Regions from separate parts of the Homo sapiens genome. Here all the other regions are linked to region 3. Evidence: promoter capture Hi-C in 16 types of primary human blood cells and fetal thymus (Javierre and others, 2016). All regions are on one chromosome and are shown on one strand. The core of a region is centred on a gene start or on the middle of the fragment in contact, and the rest is flanking DNA. Distances in the headings are between cores, read along the strand shown.

What was found. Contacts are between HindIII fragments. The CHiCAGO score rates a contact against its expected background, and 5 or more counts as called.
Region 1: a contact is called between a fragment that was not itself captured here and the fragment with the promoter of CUX1 in region 3, in 1 of 17 cell types (monocytes). The highest score is 7.3, in monocytes.
Region 2: a contact is called between a fragment that was not itself captured here and the fragment with the promoter of CUX1 in region 3, in 14 of 17 cell types (total CD8 T cells, naive CD4 T cells, naive CD8 T cells and 11 more). The highest score is 15.6, in total CD8 T cells.
Region 4: a fragment that was not itself captured here is called in contact with the fragment with the promoter of CUX1 in region 3 in 3 of 17 cell types (monocytes, M1 macrophages and fetal thymus); the score reaches 8.7 in monocytes.

What each region holds. Positions count from the first base shown.
Region 1 is chr7:101,896,075-101,899,485 of GRCh38, forward strand. The region is part of intron 1 of CUX1 (cut like homeobox 1); the gene reads left to right. Among named protein-coding and RNA genes, the nearest start is that of CUX1, 80 kb to the left of the region's middle. RefSeq lists enhancers at 1-238, 239-739. The HindIII fragment of the contact is 4,202 bases long and covers 1-3,411 here.
Region 2 is chr7:101,745,738-101,748,773 of GRCh38, forward strand. No RefSeq gene overlaps it. Among named protein-coding and RNA genes, the nearest start is that of CUX1, 70 kb to the right of the region's middle. The HindIII fragment of the contact is 281 bases long and covers 1,329-1,609 here.
Region 3 is chr7:101,816,349-101,819,330 of GRCh38, forward strand. It overlaps CUX1 (cut like homeobox 1), which reads left to right and starts at 1,278. Exons shown (of 24, transcript NM_181552.4): 1 at 1,278-1,321. The coding sequence starts at 1,292. RefSeq lists an enhancer at 1-462 and silencers at 288-447, 558-877, 948-1,027, 1,058-1,127, 1,178-1,227. The HindIII fragment of the contact is 10,531 bases long and covers 1-2,982 here.
Region 4 is chr7:101,934,911-101,938,171 of GRCh38, forward strand. All of the region lies in intron 2 of CUX1 (cut like homeobox 1), which reads left to right. Among named protein-coding and RNA genes, the nearest start is that of CUX1, 120 kb to the left of the region's middle. RefSeq lists enhancers at 1-498, 499-1,070, 1,016-1,155, 1,071-1,642, 1,643-2,214. The HindIII fragment of the contact is 1,072 bases long and covers 1,416-2,487 here.

The sequences.
Region 1 (3,411 bases), core at 340-2,839, 80 kb after region 3:
TTTTCGAAGAGACAGGGTCTCCTTATGTTGCCCAGGCTGTTCTCAAACTCCTGAAGCAATCCGCCCACCTCAGCCTCCCAAAGTGCTGGGATTACAGGTGTGAGCCACCATGCCTGGCTCACCCATAAAATTAAAATGAAAAGAGCAGACCACAGCCAGCAGTCTTCCGACCTCCAGCTCTTGCAGGTCGTGGGCAGCCTTGCCCCAGGTGCAGCAGGTAGGCCAGGAAGCAGGTGTGGGAACAGAGCAACAGCAGGCACCGTGGGGACATGCACAGTAAGCGTCGAATCGGTGTGCGTTTGCAGAAACGTGAATGGGTGAATGAAGGGGTGTATGAAGGTATACACAGGAACGCCACAGTCAGCTTTGTGTAAAGTAGACCAGTGAACAGATTGCTGGTATTGCTTCTGACAGCTCTGCTCCTCAGGGGAAAATGGTGAACTCACTTTAGAACTCGCCTTTGTCAGCTCCAACTAGACTCTGGAAGGAACACAAATGCTCAGACTTTCCCATGACAGACTGTGAAGCAAAGCCAGTTACACAGCTACCGTCACTAATATTTTTGGTATAAAGCAGTTGCTAAAATTAATTCCAGTCTGAAACTTGATGAATTCTCAGTCATGGAATTAACAGGTCTTAAATGGGAAAAATAAAAAATTAGCTTGATTAAAAATAAATGTTTGTGCTGAAATGTGGAGCCTGTCTGTCCCTAACAAACTAAATATGAAGTTTTTCATCTTAGAGGATTTGTTTGCCTTTGAGTATTCATAGGGAAAGTGCACGTTTGTACCAGAAATTTAGAGACGCACTCCCAGTAAGTTCTTACGAGCAGTCAGTATTATCCTTTTTGTATAAGGCAAGCAGTCAGTCCCTATGAAGAGTAAGATACAAGCCTGGCTCAGCAGTGGCCCCCCTGAGCCTATCTGATGTGCAGAAAAGTCACGCACACACAACTGTCTTGAAGGGCAGCCTCCTTTCAGCCAGCACCCATTTACTCCCTCTTATTAGGCCTTCCTCTGAATTTATATCAAGCAAACTATTTAGGACGCATCTGCGAAGCAGGAAGTGTGTTTCATTTTGTTTTTAATGAGGTTTCAAACTCTCTCTTCCCATCTCTGTCCCTGGATGACAGCGCAGAGTTTTACGTCATTTGCTATTAGACATCTTGTGGCTTGACATCCTCGAAGGCTCAGCCACCCCTGGGTGTGTTTGGTTAATACAGCAAGTGAAGCCTGGGCAACATATCGAGGCCTCATTTCTACAGAAATTTTTAAAAAGTAGCTGGGCATGGTGGCATGCACCTGTCGTGTCAGCTACTTGAAAGGCTGAGGTGGAAGGATTGCTTGAGCCCAGGAGTTCAAGCCCGCAGTGAGCTATGATCGTGCCACTGTACTCCAGCCTGAGTGAAGGGCGAGATGTTGTCTCTTAAAAAAAAAAAATAATAATAATAAAATAAAGAAAAGAAAAAAGTAGAGGTTCTGTGCTTAGTTAGAAGATATCTAACAACACAATTGGTTAGACTTTCATAATTATTTCTGCTGATGTAAGTATCACAGCGCAGGTCATGGGCAACAGTTTACTGTTTTCACACCCAGCTTCAATGTTAAATGAACCCCAGACTATAGCGTGACCAGTCTGATATTATCATCCCCAAATCTTTATAGTTTCAGCTCTTGGGATGGATGACTGAATAACCATTTTTTTTCCAGTGTGGTAGTCTTAGGGTTTTGCTTATTGGTGTGTGTGTTTCAAGAGGAACCTCTGTTCCTTGGACTTGATGTGAGTGGCAAGTCATGTAAAAAGCTGGATTTTATCAATAGTTTTTGTCTAAAAACCAAAACCAAAAAATTCTTCCCCTGCAGTACCAGTGCTTGAAATAAACCACCCTCCTACCCCCACCCAGCTTGCCTGCGTGGATCCAGTAGCACCCCCGGTACCCCGGTGGGCCTTTTTGGCAGCCCCGAGGGGTCAGGGATCTAGGGGGAAGAGTCACCGCAGGGAGCGCAGATGTACTTGGAGTGGGGAATGGTTGGGGGGGACCCATTCCCCTGCTTTAAACCGCAAATGTCTTTTGATATCTAGTAAAATTGGCAAGCAGAATGATTGAAAACATGTGAGAGGTAACTGGATCTAAGTCTCAAGTAGTACATATTTGAGAAGTTTTCCCCAATGTAAAAGTCACTCTTTAAGAGCCTTAAACTAATAAAAACAAGGAAATTCCATGTTACGGCTGCCACTCGGCCTTTTCATTTTTATTCCAGAAGTCAGATCTGACAGGTCAGCAGCTCACTGGCTCTGGGCTCCCCGTGTTTAAAGCAGTGGGGACGAGGAGAAGAACTGGCAGCCGCCGGGACGGGGAAGTCTCCAATGCCATTCAGTGCCAGGCTCGTAATTCCCTCTTAGTTTATCCTATTTTCTCTTCTTGGGGCGGCTTCCTGTATGTACTTTATTCACTGAAGCTGCTTCAGGATTCCTTCAGAGACTATTCTTGTTTCTTTCCATTTCTGTGTCTTTTTTTTTTTTTTTTTTTTTTTGAGACAGAGTCTTGCCCTGTGGCCTGGGCTGGAGTGCAGCGGCGCGACCTTGGCTCACTGCAACCTCCGCCTCCCGGGTTCAAGTGATTCTCCTGCGTCAGCCTCCTGAGTAGCTGGGATTACAGGCACGCACCACCACACCTGGCTAATATTTATATTTTTAGTAGAGACAGGGTTTTGCCATGTTGGCCAGGCCAGTCTCGAACTCCTGACCACAGGTGATCTGCCTGCTTCGGCCCCCCACAGTGCTGGGATTACAAAGCATAAGCCACCGCACCCGGCTAATTTCCTTTATAGTTACACTAGCTTGGAAGAATAACATACTGAGTGGCGTGGAAGGCGTTGGTGCACATAGGTGCAGCATCCCAGAGCCCCGTCCACTGGCGGCTATTTGTGCATGGCTGCCTGTGGCTTCTTATCTGTGATGGAACCTCGTGGGCAGAGAAGTGGCTGGAGAGCATCACCAAGGCTGCCTGGTCCAAGTTGCTTCCTGTTGCTGCATGGGCAGTGTTCTGGGGTCCAGACCCTGGGTGGTAGTGATAAGATGGTGATGGGGTGGAGTGGGTCCTTATAGATCCCACATTACTGAGCGGCCTTTTGCCCTTCAAACCAGATCACAATCCCCTCCCTGCCAGTTGGTCCTCAAGAAATCACAGGAGGCTGGGCGCAGTGGCTCACGCCTGTAATCCCAGCACTTTGGGAGGCCAAAGCAGGTGGATCACTTGAGGTCAGGAGTTCGAGACCAGCCTGGTCAACATGGCAAAACCCGGTCTCTACTAAAAATACAAAAAAAATTAGCCAGGTGTGGTGGTGCACTCTTGTGATCCCAGCTACTCGGGAGGCTGAGACAGGAGAATCTCTTGAACCCAGGAGGCAG
Region 2 (3,036 bases), core at 219-2,718, 70 kb before region 3:
TGATATAGATAGGGCATTATTGAAGATCCATCTAAGGGCAGATGGAAGAGGGGCCCATGAAGCCACACTCCAAGGTCTAGTTTTCTTGTTGTTTTTTTGGGGGGAGTGGGAGACAATTATGGGTTTTTGTTCTTTGAGGGATTTTGGGGGTTTTGTTGGTTTTTTGGTTGGGTTGTTTGCTTTTGAGACAGGGTCTTGCTGTGTCACCCAGACTGGAGTGCAGTGGCACAATCATGCCTCACTATAACCTCAACCTCCTGGGCTCAAGTGATCCTCCCACCTCAGCCTCCCAAGCAGCTGGGACTACAGGCATGCACTGCCATGCCTGGCTCATTTTTAAATTGTTTTTTAGAGATGGGTTCTCACTATGTTTGCCCAGGCTGGTCCTGGACTCCTGGCCTCAAGAGGCCCTCGGCCTCCCAAAGTGCTGGGATTACAGGTGTGAGCCACACCACAGTTGCCCTCTAAAGTCTAGTTTTATCTTGTGAAGAGTGAGGAGCCGCTATGAGGTGATAAGTCAGTGTCCTTCCAGACCCTTCCAGGAAGCCCACTCCGACTGTTACCCTGGGGTTCACTGGTATCTCTGAGCACCTTGTGCTTCTGAGCCAGGCCCCCGGCTATGGAAGGGGTGGGGGCGATGCTCCTAGAGGTTGGAGGACAGATCATGAATGACAGAACAGTCTGATTTTCCTGGAGGACGCCCCTCCTTAGACAGGGCAAGCCCCCAGCCAGTGCCTCCTCCTTCCCAGCACTCAATGCTCCTCCTCTGCCTCCTTCACCTTTCACTTCCTCTTCCTCCACCTTCTGCTGCTCACCAGAGTCCAACTCACATTTCTTTAAAAACTTAAAATGGGCTAAGTGCATGGTGGCATGCACCTAAAATCCCAGCACTTTGGGAGGCTGAAGCAGGAGGATCGCTTAAGGCCAGGAGTTCGAGGCTGCAGTGAGCTATGATCACACACTGCTGCACTCCAGCCTGGTTGACAGAGATCCCATCTCTAAATATTAATAATAATAGACTGGGTGTGGTGGCTCATGCCTGTCATCCCAGCACTTTGGGAGGCTGAGGAGGGCAGATCACCTGAGGTCAGGAATTCGAGACCAGCATGGCCAACGTGGTAAAACCCTGTCTCTACTAAAAATACAAAAATTAGCCAGGCCTGGTGGCGGGCACCTGTAATCCCAGCCACTCGGGAGCTTGAGGCAGGAGAATCACTTGAACCTGGGAAGCAGAGGTTGCAGTGAGCTGAGATCGTACCACTGCACTCCAGCCTGTGCAACAGACCATGATTCAGTCTCAAAAATTAATAATAATAATAATAAAATAAAGCTTCTTTGATGAACGGATCCAAAATTTTCCGATCAGAAAATCTAGAAAGAAGGTATTTTAATTTCAGCATATGTGTAAGTTTCATGGTTTCAGGGGTGTCCAAGGGAGAGAATACAGTCACAGGCTCTTAGTTTCTGTTTCTGGTTGGGTCAGTAAATCCCCTTCCTCATCCCTCTTTTCCGCTTGTCACTAGAGACAGAAACTAAAAACCATGGTTTCAGGCTGCTAAAAGCCTAAAACAGAACAGAACAACAACAGCCAAACAAGGCAGGTTGGGCAAGCTTGATAGGGTTTAGTATCATTTTTTATTGTTTATTCTGTATGGACAGGGCACATCATCTGCTCATTGTGGGACCTGCGCAAGACCCAGATCAGGGCTACCTCCTCCAGGAAGCCTTCCAGGCTCTACAGGCTGCGTCAGGTCCTATCTGCCGTGCTCCCACAGCCCCTGGGGTCCTCACCATTGCAGTCCTCAATACGCAATATTGGAGTCATTGGTTTACCCATCCCTCTCCCTCATCACGAGCTCCTGGCGGCAGAAACTAGAGTCATTCCTCCCTGCGTCCCCAGCGGTGCAAGCAAGGTGCCAGGAACAGTTAGTGGCACTGAGTCTGAGAAGCAGGCTGGCCTGTGTAAGTTGCCTTCTGCTCCAGCTGTGTCCTGGGTTGTGATGGGATCAGACCGCCTTCTAAGAGGCCCTTTCACAAGCTTGCCACCCTCCCCCACCGGGTTGTGGGACCCTCTTTGGAGCCTCAGAGAAATCCCTTTCTTCCTGTCTCCCTGGACTCAGCCACCACCCTCCCAGCCTGCCGGGAGGGGACTCCCACAGACACCTCCCCTCCCTGTCCAGCCCGGAGGAGGGGGATCAGATGCCGGGCTGGAGGCCCCTTGTCTGCACAGAGGCAGGATTTATCTCAGTTTGGGGAGGTCTGGGGCCCCCAAAGTCCTAGATCATCATTAGTTCCATCAAAGAGGCGGCTGTGATCTCAGAGACAAGATGCATGGTGTTCAAATTGGAAACAGCCTGGTGGGCCGAGGGGCCGCGCTGGGCGGGGAGAGGGTTCGGGCCGCCTCCGGGGGACCCCAGGACACTGGAGGCATCCCACAGACGGTCACAGGAAGAGGAGGAGGAGGAGGAGGAGGAGGGAAGAGAAAACATTCCACTCAGGCTCCAGGGAAGAGAGCCGTGCACAGATGGAGCAAAGCCAAGTCTGCGAGTCAAGGCGACCTCCCCACGGAGGCTGGAGAGAAAGGATGGCCAATTGTACTCACCAGTCACCCCATGAGGGTCCTACTGCGTCCCACCCCGCACCGCAAACCTTCGTGGGCCCTGTCTCACCACCCACAGCAACCCCTGAGAACTAGAAAGTGAAGGAATGCATTGCCTTTGCTTTACAGATGGGGAAACTGAGGCTCGGGTGGGGGGAGGGCAAATGGATGTGCCCTAGATCACCAGGGGTACCTGGCACGGCTGGGGTTCCAGCCCAGGTGCCTGGGTCTCTGGAACTTCACCCTGACTCTGGAAAGCCATAGCAAGGAATTGGTTTTTTTTTTTTTTTTTTTTTTTTTTGAAACGGATTTTTGCTCTTGTTGCCCAGGCTGGAGTGCAGTCTCGCGATCTCAGCTCACTGCAACATCCGCCTCCCGGGTTCGAGCGATTCTCCTCCTCAGCCTCCCAAGTAGCTGGGATTACAGGTGCCCACCAC
Region 3 (2,982 bases), core at 28-2,527:
CGCCGCCACCACTGCCCCCGGTGTCTGCCCCCACCCCGGGCGCCCCCCCGGGCCCCGCGCCGCCGCCGCCGCCAGCGCCGCCGCCGCCGTTGCCGCCGCGGGACCGGGGAGGGGGCGGCCCCGGCGGCCCGCGGGGTGCGCGCGCGAGCGGGGAGCGGGGAGCGGGCGGCGGGGGGCGGGCGGCGGCGGGCGCCGGGAGGGGGCCGCGGCCCGGCGGTGGCGCCCGCCCGCCCGCTCGCCCCGCGCCCCCGGCCCGCCGTATTCCCGGGGAAAGTTTGTGGGGAGTTGCTGCGGGGGGTGAAGCGCCTGCCTCTCCAGGAGGAGCCGCCGCCACTGCCGCCGGCGCGGCGGAGCTGGGGCTGGTGGCGCTGTGGTGCCGCCGGCTCGGGGGAGGGTCAGAGCGGCCACCGGCGGCGGCGGCGGCGGCGCGGCCCGGCTCCGGCCAGGCGGGCGGGTGGCCGGGCAGGCGCCCGCGCTCGCTACCCCCGGCCGGCCCCGGCCGCCGCCCCCGGCTGTCACCGGCCCGGGCCGCGCCGCCGCTCCGGCACCCCGCGTGTGGCTCCCGGCGCGGACCCCCGGGTTTGTTTACGTCCCGGGGAGCGCCCCGGGGCCACCCGCGCACCTCGCGGCCGCCGCGCTCTTTTGTGTGCCTGTGTCGGTGACGCGGACCTGTTCCTCCGTGGCGGACCCCCGCGGGGGCTCTTTGGGGAAACTTGGCGAGGGGCGGCGGGGGTGCCCCGCGCGCAGTGTCGCTGGGTCCCGGTGTCCCGGACCGCCGGGTGCGGGCGCGGGAGGAGGAGGCTGCAACTTTCCCCTAGGCAGGCCCCAAGCTGTTCCCCCGGGTGCCCGGGCAGTGTACGCTGCCTCCCCGCCGCCGGTCCGAGCCGCGATCGCCGCGCGCCTGGGGGCTCCGGCGGCCCCCGGTGACCTGCGGCGCCGGGTCCCTTCCTTGCGTCCCCTCGGGGCTTCTGCCCTCTCTGCAGGGCCCGCCATGGAGCGCGCGGCGGGTGCGCTCGGAGATGCCTTCTCGGGCCGGGTTCTCGAAAGCAGAGCCCCGGGGGCCCGTTGGGACCGTGGCATGCCGGGCGGTGGTCCGCGCGCGGAGTCCCCGGCGCCGCGGGGGGACCGTGCCGGGGCTCCCCGGCCCGCGCCCGAGTCGCCGCCGTGCCCAAGGGGCGAGTGCCTGCCTGCCACCCCCCGCCCGGAGGAGCGGCGCACCCTTAGGGTCCGCCCCGCACGTGCCAGCTCGGCGCCCGCGGCGCCGGGACAGCCCCGGGACTCTGCCAGGTGGATGTTGTGCGTAGCCGGAGCCAGGTTGAAGGTGAGCGGCGTGTGGGCCAGAAGTCCCGAGGTTGCAGGCGCGGAGGGAACCGGGGATGTCGGGGGGTGCCCGGGTCCCGCGGCTTAGAATGCTCTAGGGCGGCCTGGTGCTCTGGGAGGGGATAGGAGGGTTCCTCAGGGCCCCTGGGGAACTGCAGCTACTCCCAACTGCTAAGGTGTGCGTGAAGATAAACTTGGCTGAACTTTCCTAACCTGGAGGACTGGTGACAGTGACCTACCGCAATACCTTTGGGAGCAAAGCTCGAGATGCAGGCTTGTATCAAACGAAGCGGGTTGGATTAAAACATATTTAAATGGAATCTGACAACTTTAATTGTATATGCTTGTTTTCTGCTCTTGCCTACTAAGAACGATAAAGCCGAGTCATAGTCGTTATGAAATTTCCTGAAATTTCTCGCTTAACTAGGAAGAAGACTATGCGAAATATGTATTTCCGATAAGATTAAAACTTAAAGGAGTTTAAGTATTTATTGACTAAAATAGATTACTCCAAAGTGTCTATTGTGTAAATTAGATTCCTGGATGTAATGAACACAGCCGAATGGCATTTTTGATAAATTGGTCTACCCTGTTTTAGTAAAAATAGCTCCCTTTTACCATAATTTAATTCCTGTGCTTACTGTAAAACCCGTTGTGGAGTTTTAAGGACAAACATTATTATTATTTTTCTCTCTTGTCTTCCTAAATGTGACATCCTAGCTTAATATCAATGAAGTGTCTTTTTTAAAGCATCCTGGCAAAATTGCCTGGAAAATGGATTTGGTTTCTAGAGTTACTAGATTTTAAGAACTCTAAACCTTCCTGTCCCCCATATTAGCTACTTCTTCAGGGGATCAGGGCTCCAGGGTTCCATCGAAAGTTTCCATGTCAGTTTACTTGCACTTTATGTGGATATTAAGAAGAAATCAAAACCAAACCCCAAAACAAAGTCCCTTATTTGAACTTCATTCCTCTTTACTCCTTTGCTTTTGGTGGTTGCTAACGATTTGGCCTTAGATGATTTCCTATGGGTTTGCAAACTTTAGTCGAATACGGAATGTCAAAGTTCAAGTCTCAGGCCAATCTGGTTCTTTCTCTGGGCGGTGAGGAGGCCTTTGGAGTTGGTGTCTGGTTAATTCCCACCGATAGTCAGTGAGTCAATAGAACGAGTTTGGGAGAGAATTCATTAGTTCCAGATTTTTCTCATTTTTCCAGACCTCTTTATACTGAGATTGGGTTGCCACCTGGGGGTAAAGAGGCTGATCGGTCTTTGCAGAGAGAAATCCAGGTTGGAGACGTCAGCGGGTCCAGGTGAGGTTGGGCCGTTCCGCAGTTCTGCAACCCTGGCTCACTGGGTTCTTGTCCCTCGGCTTCCTGGGTCTTGAAGCTGCTGCCTTGGCACAGGAGTGTGTGCTCAGGAAGAGAATTTCTGAAGATTGTGTTTTATTCCGTTTCCTTTTTAGTCCCAAAGGCTTGTGGTATGGAAGTTTCAGTGCTTTGGTATTGCTAAGACTAGTTGGACAAGTTTTTTATCCTATCTCAGACTTGTAAAAACCAGGTTTTCTTTTCTTTTTAAATAAGAAAAGCACTGTTGTATAAATTTGTCTTTTAAATACATATTTGAAAGGAGGACACTTTCTAAGACAAAGCTCATGGCACTCT
Region 4 (3,261 bases), core at 702-3,201, 120 kb after region 3:
GAGGTGAAAACAGCATTGCCCGGGGTGAGGAGCAGGAGGAGGAAGGGTCCACGTATAGGAGTGGATGGAGGGGATCTGTGAGACAGCTGCTGGGACAGATCCGACTTGGAGACTGTCAGGCCTCTGAGCCCAAGCTAAGCCATCATATCCCCTGTGACCTGCACGTACACATCCAGATGGCCGGTTCCTGCCTTTACTGATGACATTCCACCACAAAAGAAGTGAAAATGGCCTGTTCCTGCCTTAACTGATGACATTATCTTGTGAAATTCCTTCTCCTGGCTCATCCTGGCTCAAAAGCTCCCCTACTGAGCACCTTGTGACCCCCACTCTGCCCGCCAGAGAACAAACCCCTTTTGACTGTAATTTTCCTTTACCTACCCAAATCCTATAAAACGGCCCCACCCCTTTCTCCCTTCGCTGACTCTCTTTTCAGACTCAGCCCACCTGCACCCAGGTGAAATAAACAGCTTTATTGCTCACACAAAGCCTGTTTGGTGGTCTTTTCACACGGACGTGAGTGAAAGAGACTGCCATTCATGAATGGACAAGGCCTGGCTCCGTCCACGCTTTCCCAGCTCTGTGTCCTGCCATCGGACATGCTGGCACATCTGCTGTGGGTGCCCTGCACTTCTCCGGGCACTCCTGGCCCAGCTGGGGAGGTTGGCATGGTATCCACCATTTTGTTCTAAAGTAGTAAATGAAACTCTTGGGAGGGCAGCACCCAGCAGATGTTTGGAGCTAGAGACAGGGCTCTGGGGATGTGTAGGAACCCGGACCTGGTGTGGCAATGGTGTGGGGCTGTCACGAGGCGTGAGGAGGCTGGGGTGGTGTTGGGGACAGCACACGATGCTGGGGCTCAGGCCAAGTGAAGCTTGGACTTCACTCTGTCTGAGGCTTTGCCAAGTGTCAGAGGGTGCACACTTGGGAGTCACATGGCCAGGCTCACATTTCCAGCCGAAGTTACACTCTACAGCCTGGCAGCAGATGGACGTTTGGGGACAGAGGTGGAGCCGGAACAGCTGAGACACTGTTTTAGAGGACTCTGCGAGAAACACGCTCTTAAAACAAGGAAGCGGTGGTTATGTCTTATTCAACAACGATCTGTTGTGGACCAGCTGTGTGCCAGGCAGTTGCAGGCCCTGAGGCTGCAGCAGTGAGCAGAAGGCCAAGGTCCCTGCCCTCGCGGTGCTTACATTCTAGTGGAGACAGATGTTAAACTACAGGGCAGGAAAACACTGTCAAGGAGATGCAGGTGGAGGATTCTGACTGTGGAACTGGGGCATAGAGACAGTGGGTTTTGAAAGCACTTGGCTGAGAAGGATGGGAGGAGGGAGGAGGGAGGAGGGCGGGTACATCTGTAGATGGACCAGGTTAAGGTATGGACTTCCCCATCCTGACAAGGGGGAGCCCCAAGCTTGTTTTCAGGTGTGACGGGGGTGGGGAGAAAGAGAGCATTCCAAGAGAGGCACGAACGTCATTTCCAGAGCGAGATGAAGGTCACAGAGTTTGGGAGGAGATGGGATCCGGCACTCGGGCTGGCGAGCAGACAGGAGGGAACTCAGGGAGATGGGAACCCCGGGGAGGAAGTTAGGGCAGGATCCCCTGGGAGTTTTCCCGGATACATAGGAGAAAAGGTTATCCTTCAAGGGTGAGCGGGGGCTAAGTGCAGGGGACAGAAGAGAGGAAAGCCCGGCGACCATCATGCCCGGCTGCCGTGGGTGGTCTGGATTGGAGGCGGCAGCCGGGCTGTGTTTGTGCGGAGGGTGGCAGGGGGCCAGCGGAGGAAACTGCCCAGGCGCCAGCCCTGCCATCCCCACCGGCCTCCTCGCTTTGGGGTTTTGCTTTCTGCCCTGGCCACGTGGGACCGGCTAGGTGGAGATCATGCAATCAGGGTTCCCAGCTCTCAGAACCATAATGGTTAAGCAAGCAGCTTCGTTTCCAGGCACGCAGGAGCTCCCCCGTGTCAGCGTTTTCCTAACATGGCTAATCATAAAAACCTCCTGGGTGTGTGTGTATGCTTGTTAAAAATACTGTCCCTGGGCCCCACCCTAGACTTAGTGAGACACAGTCACCGGGGAAGGGCCTGGGGACTTGCATTTAGAACCAGCTCCTGGAATGCTTACTCTGAGGCCAGTTTGGGCCCCCTCCCATGGCCTCCCTCTGTGTCCCTTCCTCCAGATGCTGATTGAGGATGTGTCCCCTGCCGGGACTGTGTTTGCATGTCTCTGTCTCTGTCACAAAGTAGATGCCTGGGGAGTGTGTGCTGCGTGGCCCCCTGAAGACCCTGTACCGGGATGTCAGCACCCCAGCCCCCAGCTCCTCCCCCTGTGAAAGACATTAGCTCCTGGAGGGGCTCAGGTGGTGGAAATGAATCTTAGCATCAATGTTTAGACCTAAAAGCCATCTCCAGGTCATCATAGCACATGACAGAGATAGAGGCAGAACCTGGTGGCCATAGGATTATTTCTGAGCAAAGATCGCCCAAGCTTTGGCATAGGCCAGGGTTATTCACATGTCCGAGTCCCTGGAAGTGGGGTGTGAGGAGGTTGTGGGGGGCCTTCAGAATGAGGGAAAAGGGATAAATCAAAATCAAGTCTTTTTTTTTTTTTTTAATTGAGACAGAGTCTCGCTCTGTCTCCCAGGCTGCAGTGCAGTAGCACGATCTTGGCCCATTGCAACCCCTGCCTCCCAGGTTCAAGCAATTCTCCTGCCTTAGCCTCCCGAGTAGCTGGGACTACAGGTACGTGCCACCATGCCCAGCTAATTTTTTTGTATTTTTAGTAGAGACGGGGTTTCATCATGTTGGCCAGGGTGGTCTCGAACTCCTGAGCTCAAGTGATCCACCCGCCTTGGCCTCCCAAAGTGCTGGGATTACAGGCGAGAGCCACCGCGCCCAGCCTAATGATATAAATATTAGTAGATTTCTGCTTACTCACTTCACCACCAGCATTTTCTAGCAAATGTGAGTTCAGCAGACACCAAAGATTTTTATAAATCAAAGTAGACAGTCTTTAACGTTGAGAAGATTCTGTTAACTCATCTGTTCTACCCACACTCTTGCCCTTCCCTCCTCACAGAAAAGCCAGGAGAAGGGTGAATAATTGAATTACAGATGACAGTAAATATTTGGATCTAGCTGCTTATGAGGCCTTAATGATATCAGTCAGTACAAAAGGTTGATATCCATGTTTTTTGGTGTGTGTATTTTTTTTTTTTTTTGAGACAGTCTCACTCTGTCACTCAGGCTGGAATGCAGTG